Regions from separate parts of the Homo sapiens genome. Here region 2 is linked to region 1. The links are contacts of gene promoters, found by promoter capture Hi-C in blood cells and fetal thymus (Javierre and others, 2016). All regions are on one chromosome and are shown on one strand. Each heading gives the region's core, a stretch centred on a gene start or on the middle of the fragment in contact. The rest is flanking DNA. Distances are from core to core; before and after follow the strand shown. Region 1 has its middle 3.2 kb from the start of EIF1. Region 2 holds the start of RARA (retinoic acid receptor alpha).

Region 1 (6,172 bases), core at 1,655-4,154:
TGTATCCTCTCCCACCCACCTCGGCAGTTGAGTCCGCAGTTGGGCCACCTGGATGGCCCTGCCCGGGGAAGAGGAACCAAGGGCTCTGGTCTTTATCTCCCTTCCTAAATGAAGTTTCCCCCCATCTATAGGAGCTCCTGCAGGACTCCCTGAAAAAGGAGGAAAGAGAGGAGGGGAAGGAGTGGGAAGCAGGATGGGGAAGACAGATGCTCTGCCAGCAAAGAGGCAAAGAGGAACTGAGCCAAGTCCCCACCGTGGGTTGGCATAAGTGGGTCCCTGGCAAGGGGAGGGAAAGTAAGAACAAGAAGAAAGGCTGGCCGGGTTGGGAGGTGGCGGTAAAATATAACCGCCATACACACACAACACACACTAGCCATAAGGGTACAGCTCAATAGATTTTTGCCACCTGGATCAAGAGGAAGGTCATTTCCAGCACCCCATAAGGTTCCCCCATGTCAGGCCGGGCGTGGCGCAGTGGCTCACGCCTGTAATCCCAACACTTTGGGAGGCCAAGGCAGGCAGATCACTTGAGGTCAGGAGTTCGAGACCAGCCTGACCAACATGGTGAAACCCCATCTCTACTAAAAATACAAAAATTTGCAAGGCGTGGTGGTGGGTGCCTGTAATGCCAGCTACTTGGGAGGCTGAAGCGGGAGGATCACTTGAACCCGGAAGGCGGATGTTCCAGTGAGCCAAGATCGCACCACTACACTCCAGCCTGGGAGACAGAGTGAGATATCATCTCAAAAAAGAAAAAAAAAAAAGTTTCCCCCATGTCCCTTCCCAGCATCTACCCTAGGCAGGTTTGAAGAATTGATGTATTGCCAGCAGAACCCCAGCTGATGCCCGACCTGCACATCTCATCATTACCCTGTGCAGGCTGCAGATCAAGCTGCAACAGGCCCGGGTCTCCCTCCTTCTCCAAGTGGTAAGAACAGCAGCCTTCATTCACTGGGACCTTCTATGTGCATGGGAGCGGGGGAGGGGGAACTATTCTAGTCACTTACATACGTGGGTCGTTAAGTCCCAAATAAGGAATGCAAGAAATGTGGCATTAATTGGACTTTCTTTAAATCAAGTGAGATCCTTGCCAATTAACATCCCACTGGGCTGCTCAGAAATCCAGCCTTGGAAATGACAGGGGCTCCAGCCCTCCCCAGGATTCTCTCTCGCTCACAAGGTTTTCTAGAGCACCAGAGCTACAAGGAGCCCCTAGACCAGATCATCTATCTGCCTTGGTTACCATGGAGATGTCTATTTTCCCAGAGGGTGCAATCCCTTCCTGGAGGGAGATTCTGCTGCTTCCGTGCCACGTTGGTGGCCTTGGAGAATCTTATTGAGGTCGAGGGTCCCAAGGTGTCCTACACAGCCATGCCCTTGTCACATCCCAAGGAGATCACCATGGAGAGGTGCCCACCTCTGTCCCATCCTCATTCAGAGGGGCTCACTCCTGTCCCCTGCTGCTCTCGGAGGCTCTCTCTCTCCCTTCCCCTCTGGGAAACTGGTATAATCTATATAGTGGTTTCATAACTTTACATTTTTATCCGGCTGTACATAGTCTCCTCTTTAAATCCCCTCAACAGCCTATGAGAAGGGCATTATTGTCTCTGTCGTACAGAGGAGAAAATGCAGGCTGGGAGGGGCTAAGTCGCCCAGGCAACAAGATGGAGATGATATTCAGATACAGACACTCCAGAGCCTGTGCTTTGTACCCTGCCCTTGGCTGCCCAGGTGACAGCATCTCAAAGCCAGGAGCACACTAATAAAGAAGCCAGCATTAACAGCAGGCATGCATGCCACTTTCAAACTAATTACTCCTGCCTCCATGATTACTCCTCAGGCTCCTGGGGCTGGGGTAACCTCCCACACTGGAAGGTAGACTTCGGAAGACCCTTCTGGAAATGCTCCCAACTTGGGAAAACAGCGCTTCAGACTTCAGACCCAGGAAGAGATCACCCAGTGCTCCTTTTATGGGGCATACAACTGAAGCCAAGAGGTAAACCAGGTCACCCACAAAGCTGGTGGCAAGTCAAGAACTGAGTCTCAGGCCTGGTGCGGTGGCTCATGCTTGTAATCCCAGCACTTTGGGAGGCCGAGGTAAAGGATTACTTGAGCCTAGCAGTTCAAGACCAGCCTGGGCAACATAGTGAGACCTCATCTCTACCAAAAATTTAAAAAATTAGCTGGCTATGGTAGCACATGCCTGTAGTCCCAGCTACTCAGGAGGCTGAAACGGATCACTTGAGCCTAGGAGTTCAAGTCTGCAATAAGCTATAATGGCACCATTGCACTCCAGCCTAAGTGACAAAGCCAGACCCTGTCTCAAAAAAAAAAAAAAAAAAAGAACTGAGTCTTGGCCGGGTGTTGTGGCTCACACCTGTAATCCCAGCACTTTGGGAGGCCAAGGCGGGCGGATCATTTGAGGTCAGGAGTTCAAGACCAGCCTGGGCAATGTTGTAAAACCCCTTCTCTACCCAAAATACAAAAATTAGCTGGGCATGGTGGCACCTGCCCGTAATCTCAGTTACTTGGGAGGCTGAGGCAGAAGCATAGCTTGAACTCAGGAGGTGAAAGCTGTGGTGAGCCAAGATCGCACCACTTCACTACAGCCTGGACGACAAAGCGAGATTCTGTCTCAAAAAATATTTTAGTGTGACAAAATATTGCATGCACACTGGGAAGGACAGCTCCAATTCATTCATTCAAACTCTCTCCCAAAACCCTTTCCAGCAGAACAATGTCCGTCAGGGCAAAGTGTTGTGGGATGTCAGGGACTCCCAACAGAGGGACCCGCTGAAGCCATGGCAGAAGAACATAAATTGTGAAGATTTAATGGATATTTATTAGTTCCCCAAATTAATACTTTTATAATTTCTTACGCCTGTCTTTACTGCAATCTCTGAACATAAATTGTGAAGATTTCATGGACACTTATCACTTCCCCAATCAATACCCTTGGGATTTCCTATGCCTGTCTTTACTTTAATCTCTTAATCCTGTCATCATAAGCTGAGGAGGATGTATGTAGCCTCAGGACCGTGATGATTGCATTAACTGCACAAATTGTTTGTAGAGCTTGTGTGTTTGAACAATATGAAATCTGGGCACCTTGAAAAAAGAACAGGATAACAGCAATGTTCAGGGAACAAAGGAGATAACTTTAAACTCTGACTGCCCGTGAGCCGGGCAGAACAGAGCCATATTTCTCTTCTTTCAAAAGCAAATGGGAGAAATATCGCTGAATTCTTTTTCTCAGCAAGGAACATCCCTGAGAAAGAGGATGCGTCCCTGAGGGAGGCCTCTGAAATGGCCACTTTGGGGACAGCTGTCTTTTACGGTCATCGCTGAGGGATGAAATAAGCCCCGGTCTCCTGTAGCGCTCCCAGGCTTATTAGGACGAGGAAATTCCCGCCTAATAAATTTTGGTCAGACCGGTTGTCTGTTCTCAAACCCTGTCTCCTGATAAGATATCATCAATGACAATGTGTGTCTGAAACTTCATTAGCAATTTTAATTTCGCCCCGGTCCTGTGGTCCTGTGGTCTTGCCCTGCCTCCATTTGCCTTGTGATATCTTATTACCTTGTGAAGCACATGATCTCTGTGACCCACACCCTATTCGTACACTCCCTCCCCTTTTGAAAATCACTAATAAAAACTCGCTGGTTTTGCGGCTTGGGGGACATCATGGAACCTGCCGACATGTGATGTCTCCCCCGGACACCCAGCTTTAAAATTTCTCTCTTTTGTACTCTGTCCCTTTATTTCTCGGACCAGCCAACACTTAAGGAAAATAGAGAAGAACCTACGTGAAATGTCGGGGGTGAATTTTGCCTGATAGTAAAGGTTCCCAAGTTGGCTGACTGGGGCCTTAGCTTCTCAAAAGGGGAAGACCATGAGACTGGGATGCCCATGACCTAGCCATGGTTCCTCCTTCCTGATGTCAAGGAAACCAAACTATTAATCAAGTTTATTTAGTAAATATAGAATCAAAACAAAGTATCAGGCCAGGCACACTGGCTCCTGCCTGTAATCCCAGCACTTTAGGAGGCCAAGGCAGGGGGACTGCTTTAAGCAGTTGAGGCTGCAGTAAGCCATGATCATGCCACTGCATTCCAGCCAGTCTGGGTGACAGAGTGAGACCTTGTCTATATATATATATATATACACATACATATATATATACATATATACACAAATACACACACACACATATATACACACACTCATATACATATATATATATATACACACACATACACATATATATATCAGGTACACCTAGCATTTCCTCCCTCAGAGTTTTTCTGAGTTTTCTGGTGGGCACATGCCCTGCCCCACAGTGGACTCCTTCCTACCCTCTGTCAGCCAGAATGCTGCCTCCCCAGAGGCCTTCTCTGACCACCCCATCTGAAGGAGCCTGGCCCTTTCACATCACCCTGTTTACCTCCTTTTTGGCACCTCTCACAATCTGTCATTATCCTTTTTTTTTTTTTTTTGAGACATAGTCTTGCTCTGTCGCCCAGGCTGGAGTGCAATGGCGCCATCTTGGCTCACTGCAGTCTCCTCTTCCCGGGTTCAAATAATTATTGTGCCTCGGCCTCCCGAGTAGCTGGGACTACAGGCACACGCCACCACGCCCAGCTAATTTTTGTATTTTTAGTAGAGACAGGGTTTCACCATATTGGCCAGGCTGGTCTCGAACTCCTGACCTCGGGTGATCCGCCCACCTCAGCCTCCCAAAGTGCTGGGATTACAGGCATAAGCCACAGCGCCCAGCCTCATTATCTTATTATTTGTTTAGTGGCTCTCTCTCCCGCTGGCCTTCAACTCCACAAGGGCAGTGACCCTGACTGTCAGGGACATAAACCAGCAGTCCATGGGCATGCATATTTTTGTTTGGCTTGCAGTGTTGTATCAAAAATTCAATTTATTCCTGTAATCCCAGCACTTTGGAAGGCCGAGGCAGGCAGATCACCTGAGGTCAGGAGTTCAAGACCAGCCTGGCCAACATGGTGAAAACCCATCTCTACTAAAAATATTTTTAAAAAACTAGCCGGGCGTGGTGGTGGATGCCTGTAACCCCAACTACTCGGGAGGCTGAGGCAGAAGAATTGCTTGAACCCAGGAGACGGAGGTTACAGTGAGCCGACACAGTGCCACTGCACTCCAGCCTCGGCGACAAAGTGAGACTCTGTCTCAAAAAAAAAATCAATTTATTGGCAATATTTAAAAATCAAGAGATTTTATGTAAACACCTGGATTTCCTGGCACTCTTGAAAAAGATCTAGCACAATGGGCTGGAGGTGAGCGGCCACTGCAGCCCGTAGTTCTTACTCCAGCCCCCAGTCCACCCCATTACATCACACTTGGCTGTTTGCACTCCTTGATCCTACTTACCTGCCTATCCCCGGAGGCCTTTGAGTCTAAAATTCCTGGTCTCTTTTCACCACTCTACTTACCCCTACAACTGAGTGTTGAAATAAATAAACTGAAAGCAAGAAAGGTTGACTGTTTTGAAGGAAATATTTCATCTAAACTCTAGGAAGGCTCTACTCCACACAAGCTGTGCCACATGAAGGACGCCCTCTGGTGCCAGAATTATTCTCGGGGGGGCCCAGAACCAGTTACTATACCTTGAACTCATGCCAATGAGCTGGGCACACTTTTTCCTTAGATGGATTAATCTAATCTAAATGAAAATTTTAGATCGGATTAACCCACTTTAGAATAAATCTAAATGGCAATCTAAATTATGCGGTTACCGTTTTGATTATATTATTGTATGTTGATTAATCAAAGTGCCGCCCTAAATCCCGCTGTGACTCCGTGGGTAGTAGGGTGGGTAGGTAGGTGGGTTTGACACAACGGGGATTTCTCGTGTTTGGGAGGCTCATCATCTAAATCCTCTCTAAGGAGTGTTCATTTACCATATGAAACTCCCCTTTTCGAGAAGACAGGGATGCAACAGGGTCAAGAAGGTGGAACGTACCAAAGGACACAGTGCGTAGGCGCGCTCGAAACCTGGGCCGGTATTCTCGGCACCCAGACACCGTCCACTCGCACTGCGCAGGCTCCGAGACAGATCAAGCTTTCCCTCCCCCTCCCAGCTCTCCTAGAGTCAAGAGGACGCCCTCCTGCCGCAGACTTCCTGCGCAAGCGCCATCCCATGTC
Region 2 (6,172 bases), core at 1,795-4,294, 1.4 Mb before region 1:
ATCCGCCCGCCTCGGCCTCCCAAAGTGCTGGGATTAGAGGCTTGAGCCACCATGCCTGGCCGGTTATATATTTTTTAAATATCTTGAGACGTGTTACCTTGACTGCTGAGGGAGGACAAAAGAGATCCAAGATTGAAATTTTATTTACATTTGTATCTGTGCCTAGCAATTAGTATAGTGCCTAATACCTGGTAGGTACTCAATAGTTGTTTAACAGATAAGTGAACCAAATAAGATACTGCCTTTCCCTCAGTGGTGAGAACAGTTCTAAGCTGAAGGTAAACGTTGGTGGTACTTTTGCACAGAGGTGGAGCAGGCCCCTGCATAAGAAGGGTGCTCTGTCTTACAAAATGTGTCTTGGCACAGTTTTGGAGCATTTATTAGCCTCACAGATGCATTCCAATCACTCCCTCTGATGTAGTGGCATTTTGCTTGAGGCAACTTCCATGTTGCTGGTGGGACGCTTTGGCTATGAGGGGAAGAGTCTTATCTACAGGCTGTGAAGAGGGCTGCCTGTCTGGATGTCACTCAGTGTGGCTAGATTGGCCAGAAGCTGGGTCTGTAGGCAAGGGTTTAGGGAGGAGCCCACCTTTGATGTCCCTCTTTTTAACTTGGGGCAAGTTGTGATCTCAGGTTCTTCCTGAAAAGATAAGGTACTTTCTAAGATACCTTCTCTTAAGCTACAAACAGTGCAGGTCTTCCTCTTAGAAGAGGTGTGTTCCGTAAGGGGAGAAGGTGTGCCCTCTGGCCTCCCCTTGATTTTCAACCCCAGCCCCAAGGCACTGGTAGTGGAAGTTAATTGGGTGCAAGGGGCTTGGGTAAAGGCTGAAGACTGGTGAAAGGAGAGAGCCAGCTTCGTTTTTTAAAAAGCTCTAATTGAGTTCTGAATCAGCCTCACTCCCTTTGATCCCTCCTCTGTTTCCCACACTGCCTGAAAGAGCTAGATCAGCACTTTATAACAAGGGTGCGCCTGCTCCCCGCACCGCCCCCCGCTCCTGACGCTCTCTGCTGCCGCCATCCACTGCTTGTCTCCTTCAGTTAAGATAATGAAGATGCTGAGAGATAAAATGTGTATTTAATAAGGGTGGGGGTAGGGAGGCGGAAAGGGGCAACCAGGGCCTTCCCTAGTTTGGGGCCTCGCCAAGACTTAAGCTGAAAGCAAAGCTAGAGTAAGACTTGGCCCCAGGGTGTGGGGGTTTCTGGGCCTCAATCCAGCTGACTTCACTGCCTGCTGTTTGCCCTAAATTCCCCCACCTCCACCCTCTCACCCCCACACTGCTTTCTTCTTGCTCCCAATGGGAAAAAGGACTCTTGCTTCAACTTTCTTTTCAGCTGGTAACTTGGCCTTTGGTGCGGTGCCCCCCACCCCAGTGTCAGCTGCAAGGTCGGGCTAGGGCAGCCCCCTCTAGCCTAGGCCTGTAGAAGCTGTGGGTTCACAGTGGGGGGTGAAAAAGCTGGAGTTAATGAAGACCAGCTGCTAGTCTGGGTTCTGCCTACAGCTAGCTGGAGGCCAGCCTTTGGTGGTGGTTGATGGGGGGGTGGGGTGACCTCCATCCATGGGCACAAGGATATCCTGTGGCAGCTAGGCTTGTGCTTCTCTCTGAGCTTAGTTTTATCCTTAGTTTATAAGAGAGTATCTGTTTCCTTCCCCTACTCCTCTCCTCCCCAAATAACACTCAGCTCTTATTGAACTTTATAACTGTAGTGGTGGCCCAGCTGAGATCTGAGGATCTCCAAACCCTTTTGTAAACACTCATTAACTGCCTGGGAAGAACGAAGAGCCCTGTTTAACAGCTGGGAGAGAACTGAGGCACATTAGGGTGAAAGGTTTGACCTAAACTCACCCCATGGACTCCACCCTGGGGCCTTCCATCCTTAGTCCAGCTCCTTTACTCAGTTCTTCCTGCAAGACAGAGGTGGAGGCATTGCTGGTGTCTTCTCCCCTTCTAGGGAGAGGCCATGCCCTCTCCCCTCAAGTCTGTCGCTGACTTCCTCTGGCCCTTCCCCTCATGACGTTTTCCCTGCTCTGCTGCTAGAGATATGTGCAACTCTCCTTGCAAAATGTTCTCAATCCACAACTTCAGAATTCTTATCCAGCTTTCTCTTGCCCATCTAGCCCACCAAACCTGAATTCTCCCTTTTGAGCTACTGAGAAGACTGGCTATACTAAACTGAATCAGTGACCTTGAAGTTGATCTGTTGTATTGAGGTCCCTCTGCCCCTATATTTATCCTAAATGGTATCTAGGAAAATATTCTCTCTTTAACTTGTTTATTCTGGTCATAAAGATTCGGGACATTACTGAGGGCTGGGTAGGGGCACTAGTTGACCTCTAGGTTCTACGTCCTGTTCTTCCACTGACAATTACCATTTCCAGTAATAGGTGTAACCCAAAGTTCTTTTTTGTTTTTTTCTCCTTCCCTAACCCCACCTGTTTATACTCTTGCCTATATATGTGTATTTGCAGACCCCACACATTCCCAGATACACATACATTGGTCCTACATGTTTCCCCTGTTTCCAGCTGCCATCTAAGTGAGCCTGCACTTTTTACATGCTGAAAATCTTTTTTCACCCTCTATGGCCTCCTAGGTCCTTGGGAATAATTGGGAGGGATGAAGGGACTCCTGCAGTCCATGAGGAAGAGGACAGAAGTGAGCGCCCAACCAAAATGAATGCTCCCTTTCCAAAATCTCTAGCTGAATGCCTTAGCAGGAGTGGCAGGGAAAGAGATCTTAACCCCACCTCCAGCACCAAAACCTAAATCCATCTGCTCAGGGCAGGCAGGAAGAAATGTCTATTTTCTCCTGTTTCAGGTCATCCTATCCTCGAGTTATCCATATGCTGTGTATTTGAGACAGGGAACTGTTCCTGTCCCCAGCCGATGACCAGACGCCCATCTTTCTTCCAGTGGGTTACTTCTCCCCCATCAGTCCTTCGCTCTGCGCCCGCTGACCCAGTCGGGGCTGGCTGGTGGAAGAGGGCGGGGAGAGCCTTCTAGTTGGCGAGTGGGCTTTAGGACCCAACGGGAACCCGTGCCTCTTGCAGCAGCCTAACCCAGAAGCAGGGGGGAATCCTGAATCGAGCTGAGAGGGCTTCCCCGGTTCTCCTGGGAACCCCATCGGCCCCCTGCCAGCACACACCTGAGCAGGTAGGACCATGCACACCCCTTCCCAATTCTTTGGCCGCCTTTGACCCCGGCCTCTGCTTCTGATCTAGCCATTTCCTTCTCGCCAGTTCTGGCTTTCCCCATCCCTCCTCTCCCGTCGCTCACTGTAGTCCTGGGAGGTGGGAGCCTGGGAACAGTGGGGTGTCTGAAAGCTCAGAGCCCTCTGCACCCTCCAGCACCCTTCCTGCATTTCTCCTGAGGCAGTTCCCGTTCTCTAGATAAGAGTGGGGAGTAGGGGGAAGGTCTGCCCAGGCCCCACGCCCTTGCACCCTCCTTTGCGGTATTGCCTAATACCCCTTCCCCCACCTCACCTAGACTGGAGAATTGGCAAGTGCTGAGGTAACAGAGAGAGGAGAGAGCCAGAGAGGGACCTGAGCTTTCCCAAGGGATTTCTTTCTTGCTTCCTCACCCAAAGAGCTCAGGACTTTGCCCCTACTCCCTACACACCTTGTAGGGGAACTAATGTCCCCTTCCAGGTTCATCTCACACTTGGGTGGCTAAAGGCTTTGCTAGAGGGTAGTGGAGGTTGTGAGCATTTTGGTGAGCTTTTCCTCTAGGAAAGTTCTTTCAGCTTAGAGCCCCCATCCATGTCAACATTTCAACACCTGCTGCAGAAGCCCCCCGACCCCACCTGTGTGTGTGTGTGTGTAGGGACAATGTGGTTGTAAGATCTAGAAGCTTTGGATAGAGGTGGCTGCATGCATTGAAGGGGAGGGATACCAGAGTGTGGCCCAGGCCAGAACAGGCTCAGTCCAGATGGCTAGGGAAGGGGGTGTGGACCAGATTGAGGAGGTCACCCAGCCTTGCCAGCTCCCTGAGCTTCTTGGCTTTCAGAATCTCAGGCTCCTGGTGTTTCTCTAGAGCTACAAGGTCCCCAAGCTTCTGCCCCGCTACAGGCTCTCTGGGAGAGGGCTAGATGGCACCTACTGTTTACAGTGGCTTATTTTTCTCTCCTGTGGTGGGCAGACAGGCCCTGCTCTCTGAAGATCTAGGGCGTGTCATTCTGGTTTGGTGGGTTTACAGGAAGGGTGTACACCTTGTCTGACTTACCATGTGTGAGTGTGTGTCTTGCTTCTGGGGGTAGTAGACTGGGGAGGGGGGTGATAGAAGAGACTGGTCACACTGAGGGAACTCCTCTAGCAATCAATGTATGATAGGAATGGGTGGCATGTCCCCATCTGGTAGCTCTGTCTAGGTGTGGGGTGTGCTCTGCATTCTTCCATGGCTCCCCGGGTCCCCTAAAGGTTGGTTTTAGAGGACAGGGTGGATAATGAATTGGCTTCAGACTTCGTTCTGGTCTTGATCCAACAAGGAAAGTAGAGATTCTGACTGTGAGCAGTGAACTAGGAATCAGAGGCCTGAACTGGAGACTTAGACTGGTTACTTAACTATATGTGTTTATATAGGTCTTCCCCTTTGCTAAGCCTTAGTTTCTCCATTTGTAAAAATGGCTATCAGTAGCAAGCAGGGACATTGCCACTAAAACCACAGAGACAATGTATCGTAAAGCTCACTGCAAACGGTAGTAATGGCTGGGGGAATCTAGGATGGAATCCTCTTCCTAAATCTAGGTCAATCTCTCCGCCTTTAGTTTTCTTCCCCCATCCTTTGCCCATCTGGGGGATGGAGGAACTAGGCAGGGCTATTGCCCCGGTTACTGCAGAATTCCCCTAATGCAGGTTGTAGCTGTTACCAGAGCACCTGTGGTCACAGAGTACAGATCTCTCCACCAGGCATTTCTTCCTCTGGGGCCCCATACTTGCTCCCCTGAGCCATGTCTCCACCTTCCTTCTGCCATCCCTGCTTGGCGTCCTTGTCTCTCTCTCCCCTGCCCAGTGGCCTCCTTGTCTGGCTCACTGGGCAGGAGCCCTAATCGGATTCGACAGCTGAGATATGTGTGGCGGCTAAGAGCAGGCAGGAGGGAAGCCAGTGGGAGGATGGTATGAGGACTGCCCCTGGCACTGCCCCGGCCTCCCAAGCACCACCTTGGGCCTGCTGATTTCTTACTTGGCTTGGCCCCAAGGAAGGGGTGCCAGAGGAAGCTCAGGAATGAACAGGCTGGGGTCTGGAGACTAGGAGAGGAGGAAACACACCAAGGTCCTCAGGACCTGGTTGATATTCGATGACCTTAATGTCAGTGTCACTGACTCTGACAAGGAGGAAAGGACAGCGATGAGCCAGGCTGACCCCCGCCACCCCATTCCCATAGCCCCACTTTCTTCTCTCTTCTTGTTCAGAAATGTTTCACTTTGCCTCATCTAGCCCCTTTGGCCAGTAGGTCACATCTGGGAGCTTCTGGGGGTGCCACATGTCTGCCTCAATCTGGGCTGTTTCCTCCCCTCCAAGATATTTCACTGTCTCTGGGCTGGGCGCCAGGACTCCTGGGTTTCCCTGCCTGTGGTGCAGGGCTCCCCTGCAGGGCTCCAGAGAGTCGCTTAGCTGGTTTCCTTCCTCCTTTGTGGGGAGGGCCTTCCCCTAGGGCTGGGAGGTGTCAGGAATCCCAGGTGGGACAGGGGTGGGGGCACAGTAGCCTCTGGCACTGTAGCACCCCAGCTTCTCCCTCCTAGCCTCTGACTCAGCTTGGGGGCAGCACATGCCCAGCCTGGCAGGCATGGCCTATTCTTGCCTCCAGGCTTCTCTCTTTACAGAAGCCTACATCTCCTGCTCTCATTTTTTAGTTTTTTTCCCCATGATATCTGCAGGTGGCTAGTGAAATCCCTGGTTTTGGGGAGCAAGGGACTAACATAATTGAGGCTGGGGCACTATTTTGTCTTCCCTCCAGTTGGGCCAGGATGAAGGAGACTGTCACAAACTTCCCCAAGCCAATTCCTTCTGCCCTCAAAAGACCAGTCAGTGGAGCCAGGCCCTGCCCTTTGGGTGCCCACAATGTGGTTGGCACTGATTTGTCAGAAATTGGGAAGGTTTCCCTCTAGACCGCTTGCCTCCTTTCTCCTCCTCCCGCAGGGTAGGGGCAGCTCTGTGATTGCAGGCACTTATGGGCAG

What was found. Contacts are between HindIII fragments. The CHiCAGO score rates a contact against its expected background, and 5 or more counts as called.
Region 2: a contact is called between the fragment with the promoter of RARA here and a fragment that was not itself captured in region 1, in 2 of 17 cell types (M0 macrophages and M1 macrophages). The highest score is 8.4, in M0 macrophages.

The regions. Positions count from the first base shown.
Region 1 is chr17:41,682,578-41,688,749 of GRCh38, forward strand. No RefSeq gene overlaps it. Among named protein-coding and RNA genes, the nearest start is that of EIF1, 3.2 kb to the right of the region's middle. RefSeq lists an enhancer at 6,009-6,172 and a silencer at 6,133-6,172. The HindIII fragment of the contact is 6,365 bases long and covers 1-6,087 here.
Region 2 is chr17:40,306,136-40,312,307 of GRCh38, forward strand. RARA (retinoic acid receptor alpha) reads left to right here and starts at 3,045. Exons shown (of 9, transcript NM_000964.4): 1 at 3,045-3,151. RefSeq lists enhancers at 2,472-3,357, 2,737-2,906, 2,917-3,046, 3,358-4,241, 5,831-6,172. The HindIII fragment of the contact is 5,393 bases long and covers 1-3,845 here.